Regions from separate parts of the Homo sapiens genome. Here region 2 is linked to region 1. The links are contacts of gene promoters, found by promoter capture Hi-C in blood cells and fetal thymus (Javierre and others, 2016). All regions are on one chromosome and are shown on one strand. The core of a region is centred on a gene start or on the middle of the fragment in contact, and the rest is flanking DNA. Distances in the headings are between cores, read along the strand shown.

Region 1 (3,184 bases), core at 491-2,990:
GAACCCCATCTCCATGGCCAGAAGGCAGGAATTAGGGAAAAGGGGAGCCGTGAGGCTTCCAGGCCTGGGGTTGGAACAGAAGCTGCGCGGTGTGGGGCGATTTGGGCGCAGGACCCCGGGTGCTGGGAAGTGGGGAGCAGGACTGTGTCTGTTGCTCCAGAAAGCGCGAGGGATGCGATATAGGAAATTCGGGCGTCAGTTAGAGCCCGAGAGGGGTTCAGGGAGTCACTGACTTAGGCAGAGAGGAGCCCAGACGGGGTTCGAAGACCCTGGGGACGGACGCCCACCTGTCAGTCCTGGACTGTGGGGCACCCGTAGGCCGAGGGGCAGGAGGCTATGGCCCTGTCTCCTGGCTTGGGTCTAAACATCCCAAGGAGGTCAGACCGTAGAGTGGGGGCTGTGTGATCTTTCAAATGAGGGACGCCGCGTGTTACCAAAGGCCAGTGCTGAGGAGCTGGGCTGAAAGCTTGGGGAGTTCCCAGAACCAGCAGACTAGGAACGGGAGGAACCGTGTCGGGGGCTCTGCTCCGCTGGGCACTGACCCCCACCCCGCCCCCCGGTCTTGCAAGGGCTGGAGAAGGGTGAAAGGCAGAGGCGGGAGTCCGCACTTAGGGACCGGTCCGTTCCACACGCTGCTGACCAGGCTCCTGGGTGGCGCTCGCATGGAACATTCCGGAAACACCCATGGGAAGGTCCCAAGTTGGTTCCGAAAGGCCCTGACGGACGCGCAGGGGACGCTGAGCCTGTGATCCTCGCCTCACCCAGACGAGGCCGGGCTGCTTCTCACAGGAAAGTGCGTCTGGAGTCCGGGGACGGCCTCCTCCTGGGGCCTGTCCAGGTCGCCCTGGGCCTAAATTACAGGCGGGGAGAGGCCTGTCGGAGGAGCCCCCGCTCCAGACCCCTGGGGGACCCAGGGCGAGGTCGCCCCAGCGCCTCACGTCTGGGGGCTCCCCTTTGCCACGTCGCCAGAGCAAAATTCAAAATCTGCAGTTCTGGCAAATTTCCGGGGCCTCCCGGACACGAAAAGCAGCTGAAATCTCAGGACAATGTCATTGGATGCGGACCGAGAAGAAGCCGTTCGGAACCAGAGCTGCCCCGGATTCTCCCAGGCCTGGCTCGCCGGTGGGGGGACCCCGGTCCCTGGTTTGGGGGGGCAGGAACGGGCGGGCGCCCCTGGGGGCTTCTCATTTGTGTGTTGGTCTCGGCCTTGAAATGCAGCGGAGAAAATAAAAAATAAAATAAAAATAGGAGTCAGGTGTCAGAGTCGGGTCGGCCAGGCACTGAGGTTTGAAGGAATCGCAGAAGAAGCTCCTCTCACCCGGGTCCAGGCCGCGGGGGTTCTGCGGGAGGCGCCCCCGATTCTGCCCGCGGGACGCCGCGGCCTCGGAAGCCCCGGGAGCAGGCCCCGCCCCGCCCCCACCCTCCTCTCTCCCCAAGTCCTCCCGCCCCCCCAGCCCCGCCCCTCCCCCGCCCTGGGTGCTCCCCTGCCCCTCCCCCGGCCCTCCCCCGCCCCTCACCCGCTCCTGCCCCTCCTCTCTCCCCAGGTCCTCCCGCCCCCAGCCCCGCCCCTCCCCCGCCCTGGGTGCTCCCCTGCCCCTCCCCCGCTCCTGCCCCTCCTCTCTCCCCAAGTCCTCCCCGCCCCCAGCCGCCCCTCCCCCCGCCCTGCCCCCCCCCGCCCCCGCCTCCAGCCCCGCCCCTCTCCGCTCCCCGCCCCGCCCCCACGCGCCCGCGGTCCCGCCGGAAGGACTTAAGCGCCCCGGAGCCGGGAGGCGAACTTGGGACCCGCTGGCCTCGCTCGGTGCGCGCCTCCCTCCCCGCATGCAGCCCGCCGAGCGCTCGCGGGTCCCCAGGTGTGTGGCGCGGGGTGCGGGCGTCCCCGGCGGCTGCGGTCCCCGCGCGGGCCCGCGACCCCCCAGAGGAAACTTCGGGGACGCCGGCCTCCTTCTCTCGGTTTTGCAGGATCGACCCGTACGGATTCGAGCGGCCTGAGGACTTCGACGACGCCGCCTACGAGAAGTTTTTCTCCAGCTACCTGGTCACGCTCACCCGCAGGGCGATCAAATGGTCCCGGCTGCTGCAGGGCGGGGGCGTCCCCAGGAGCCGGACAGGTGGGTCCCGGGGGCGCAGGTGGGTCCCGAGGGCGCAGGTGGGTTGGGCTGGGACGGGCCGGGCAAAGTCCGGGCTCCCGGAGCGGAGGGAGGGGGAGGAACCTTTCCGGGCAGGTCGGGACGAAGCTGCGGGCTCCGAGCTAGGGCAGCCGCAGGGACCGGTTTTCCCGCTTTGAGATGGGCCGGCGGGTCGGACGCGAAGGAGACCCGTCCCTCCCAGCAGGGAGCCATATCGGGATGGATCAAAACTCGATCCATGCCGGGCGCGGTGGCTCACGCCTGTAATCCCAGCGCTTTGGGAGGCCGAGGCGGGCGGATCACGAGGTCAGGAGTTTGAGACCAGCCTGACCAACATGGTGAAACCCCGTCTCTACTAAAAATACAAAATTAGCCGGGCGTGGTGGCTCCTGCCTGTAGTCCCAGCTACTCTGGAGGCTGAGGCAGGAGAATCGCTTGAACCCAGTAGGCGGAGGTTGCAGTGAGCCGAGATTGCGCCATTGCACTCCAGCCTGGGCGACAGAGCGAGACTCCGTCCTTGTGACGGGACCCACAGGGCCCTGCTCGACCTGCCGCTCCTCCGCGACCCCAGGCCTCCTACTGCTGCGGTGAGCACCGGCCTGACCGCCCGCCCGCCTCGGGGTTAGCTGCAGGGCCCCCTCCTCCGGGGCGCCCCAGGCTTCCCTGTGCGGAGGGCACCTCCTCATTTCTGCCTTTCCCAGCACAGCCCCTGCTGGAGTCAAAAACCCTTCCTCCCTGCAACGGATTTTTCATTCACTGCTCAGTCCTCAGAACCTGGGGCAGTGCCAGGCGACTTCCCTGTGTGTTCAGTGAATGAATGAAGTGTCTGCCTGGGGTGAGGGCTTGGTGGGAGTGTGCCCTGGAGCTAGGAACTCAGAGAAGTGGGGTCAAAGGGGAGTCCTGGGGGCTTCCTGAGAAGGGGGATGTGAATGGCAGCTGGGCTTCCAGGGACCGAGCAGTAGGGACCTGGTGGGGAAGGACAGAGATGAAACCAGGGGCCCTGCACCTGGGCGGAGGGTCGGAGGTGTGTGGTGACCACGGCCAGGCACAGAGAAGCC
Region 2 (3,445 bases), core at 410-2,909, 340 kb after region 1:
GAAAGTTAAAATTAGAATACAACATTCTTTCTAAATTGATAAAAGTGATGCTTGGTTTAGAATGTAACAGTTGAAACCCCTTAAAAGCAGCCTTCACGAGAGATTTGTCCATTTAATTTGCATTGACATGTGAAAGAACAGGCCTGGTCAATTTCACTTTTTTCCCACTTAAAGAATGTGCTGGCTGTGCAGCTGTCTGGAAACTGCGTGCTGGGGAACCGCCTGTGCCAGGGTCTCGTCCACCATCTCCTGGAAGAAAAGGTCCAAGCTCCCCTCCCTCTCTTGGTCTCCCAGGGATGTCCCGGGACCGAGCCGCAATGCTCCGCGTCTCCAGCAGAGGGCAGCCCCGCCCCCACCTTGGGAAGAGGGTCCCCCGCAGAGGGTACTTCCCGGGGACACAGCACCCTCAGGGCGCAGTGGGCAGGTCTCCTCCTTGTCACTAGCCTGGCAATTTTGCTCGCCAGGGATGCAGAGACTTCCTCTGGGACGGTCCCCTCTGCCAAGCTGCACCTGCAAGGCTTGCAGGGACCCTGGTTTTATCTGCAGAGGCCATGATTGACCCCCACATTTTTAACACACTCTGCACTTCTCAAGAAGGCATCCCGTAGATGCCCTTAGGAAGAAGATTTCCCTTAGAAATGTGTCAAGAATTGTTCACTCTCTCTGGAAGGACATGCTCAATGGCAACACCCTGGAGGCACGGGGTCCCCACAGCACGCCTGCAGCCCCGTGCTCACAGAAATCCAGGGGAGCTGCCGCGGCTGCTGCGCCCTAGGATGCCGGGACAGCCAGGGGACAGGTGGCTCTTACAGGCCCGCAGCTTCCCTTCTGTGGGTCCTTCTGATCAGGGCACATGGGCGTCCTCCCAAATTCACACAGGTTGGGTTTTGTTATCAAAGAGTTTTATTTCCAGATAGAAAGGGAGCATTGGGTCTGACACTGATGAGACCTACCTGGGAAGAAAGGAAACGTGGGTAGAATGCACGCATACACTCACGCTCACACACACCCCCCACACACCACACCCCACACTCACCCCACACATGCCTCACATAGTCCACACATACCACACACACCACTTACCCCACACATGCCACATGCTCACATTACACACACACCACACATACCCCACACACACCCCGCACACGCCACACACACCACACACTCACCCCACACACACCACAGGCTCACATTACACACACTCACACCACACACTCAGACACCCACACTGAGTCTGGTGGGGGAAACAGCTCCACGGTCAGCAGCACTGCTCATGGCTGAATGAAGCTGGCATTTCCAGGATCTGATTTAGAGCGTTTGGTGATAGAAAGGCCTCTTCCACTTTTTATTATCTAAGTGTGACCAGAAAACCTGAGTTTCCATACACAGGTGAACAGTGGGGATCCATGGAGCTGCCTCTGAGCAACCTGGGGCCCGCGTGTCCACAGCGGGGACTGGGCCTGCGCTCCGGCCACCTTCAGCCAGACCAGGCTGTGCGACTCACAGATGCGCAATCTACAGAGGTGGCTGAGTGGGTCTTGTCCTGCAGGAGTCTGGACCCATCTGAGATTCCTGGATCTCAGGAGAAGCAGACAGACAAGTGGGGCAGCAGCAAGGAGGCCATGGAAGGTTCCAGAACATCGGATAAACAGAGGCGTGCACACATGAACACGTGCCGCCTACCACACTCTTATGGCCTTGATGGGTGGCCTTTGAGTGCTGCAGATTCTAGACAAATCTCAAGAAAAGGGATGTGGGTAGCTAAGGAACTCCGCAGATTCTAGAAAAATCTTGAGAAAGGGATGTGGGTAGCTAAGGGACTCCATGAAGTTTCTAAGACAAAAGAGACAGGAAGGTTCAACAAACAGGAGGCGCCCCAGCTCATGGCTCCAAGTAGCAAGCACTGACAACAGCCCTGATTTCTGAGCATGAGTCTGACCAGTCAGCATTCAGTGTGGACACCACAGAATCTCATTTAGCCCCATGCCAGGAGGTGCCATCAGGGGGCGGATGTACCTGTCAGGCCGGCCGTCCCCTGGGACACAGGCCCTTCCTCCTGTGCAGGTGACAGACAAAGGCCTGGAGGCTTGGAGATGACCGCCCTCCCCAGGACACCCCTCTGGCCACAGCACACCTGGAGCCTACGTCCTCGGGGTACGGCCATGTGGTCTGAGCCTTCGGGCGCTCCCCTGCCCAGCCATCCCCTTTCTCCAGCCATCACCGTGTTATTAAGCCTCATCTATAACATGGGCTTAATAACTGCCTTCCTGCCACAGTGTGGCTGAGAACCAGGGAGGAATGTGTGGAAACCGTCTGCAGCATCGCAGCCTTGCCCCACCAAGCCGGTCCCATCAGCCCCTCAGGGAGCTCGGCCGCTCGGCCCGAGACCCAGCCCCTCCTCCGTGCACTCAGCTCAGCCAGCAGAGCCTGGCGCATAGGGGGTGCAAGATTCTCACAACAGACAAGAGACTGAGGTCAAAACCACAAACCCAACACACAGTGATTTGGGGCTACCAGGACACCGCCATGTCCAGGGCTTTGACCATAGTCAGTCACGAGCCCCCTTCTTTCTGCCCACCAAGACGTCCTGCCCCCGAAAGGCCCACCGGTGAGGCTCCCTGCTCCTCCAGCTCCCACCTCAACCCGCCAAGTGGACAGAGGTGCCCACCGCTCTCCCTCTCCTTGAGGCATGACTGCAGAGGCTGGCTGCTGCCAGCTGGTGGTTATGTGATATTTATCAGGGGATCAATGTGCTGCTTTCCAGGTCAGGCCGACGGGCTGAGCTCTCAGTTACCAGGCCCAGTGCGCTGTTGTCTTTAAAGACTGAAGAATGAAGAACCTTCACGGTAATGGCCACGGCTGCACTTTCACGCTGATGGTTAAACATCTCCTCTGTGTTTTGCCACCTTATGTAATGTGCGGGATACAGATGCCATATTTAAGGATATTTCTGTTTTTACTTGGTGTGTGTTCACTATACCCCAAATGGAAGCAGCAACTACACTGTCTGGTGTGAGGCTGACATTCTCAGCATCTTCCTGGAGGCTGGGACGAGCACATCAGATGAGAGACCCCCGCGGCACCCCTCCCAAGTCAGCCTGCAGCTCACCGGCCTGATGCTGCTCTCCTGCCCGCCGCTGGGGAGACACAGAACTGGGCTCCCTACCTTTTCAGAGGACAGGGACCCAGCTCTGTCTGGAACAAAACAAAAAACTGCAGCCTGAGGGAACCATTTTTGTTAACTGGATTTTCTGGTACCTCTGGGGTCAGTTCTTTCCTGGAAAGGGCAGGAGGCGGCCACGCCCCCAGGGCCTGACCACGACACAGAGAGGCCACGTGGACGGGCTCTGCTCCCATGAGCATCAGGTCCCGTGCAGATGGGCTCCTCGGCATTAAGAACACAGAAGCCCTCGCACCGCAGAACTCTGCTGATCGAACAGGCATG

The links. Contacts are between HindIII fragments. The CHiCAGO score rates a contact against its expected background, and 5 or more counts as called.
Region 2: a fragment that was not itself captured here is called in contact with the fragment with the promoter of GRTP1 in region 1 in 2 of 17 cell types (M0 macrophages and M2 macrophages); the score reaches 5.5 in M0 macrophages.

What each region holds. Positions count from the first base shown.
Region 1 is chr13:113,362,686-113,365,869 of GRCh38, reverse strand. It overlaps GRTP1 (growth hormone regulated TBC protein 1), which reads left to right and starts at 1,740. Exons shown (of 8, transcript NM_024719.4): 1 at 1,740-1,850; 2 at 1,960-2,108. The coding sequence starts at 1,819. RefSeq lists enhancers at 1-180, 181-874 and a silencer at 1,862-2,156. The HindIII fragment of the contact is 5,619 bases long and covers 469-3,184 here.
Region 2 is chr13:113,026,561-113,030,005 of GRCh38, reverse strand. The region is part of intron 3 of MCF2L (MCF.2 cell line derived transforming sequence like); the gene reads right to left. Among named protein-coding and RNA genes, the nearest start is that of MCF2L, 59 kb to the right of the region's middle. RefSeq lists enhancers at 1-112, 1,700-2,199, 2,200-2,701. The HindIII fragment of the contact is 8,054 bases long and covers 1-3,445 here.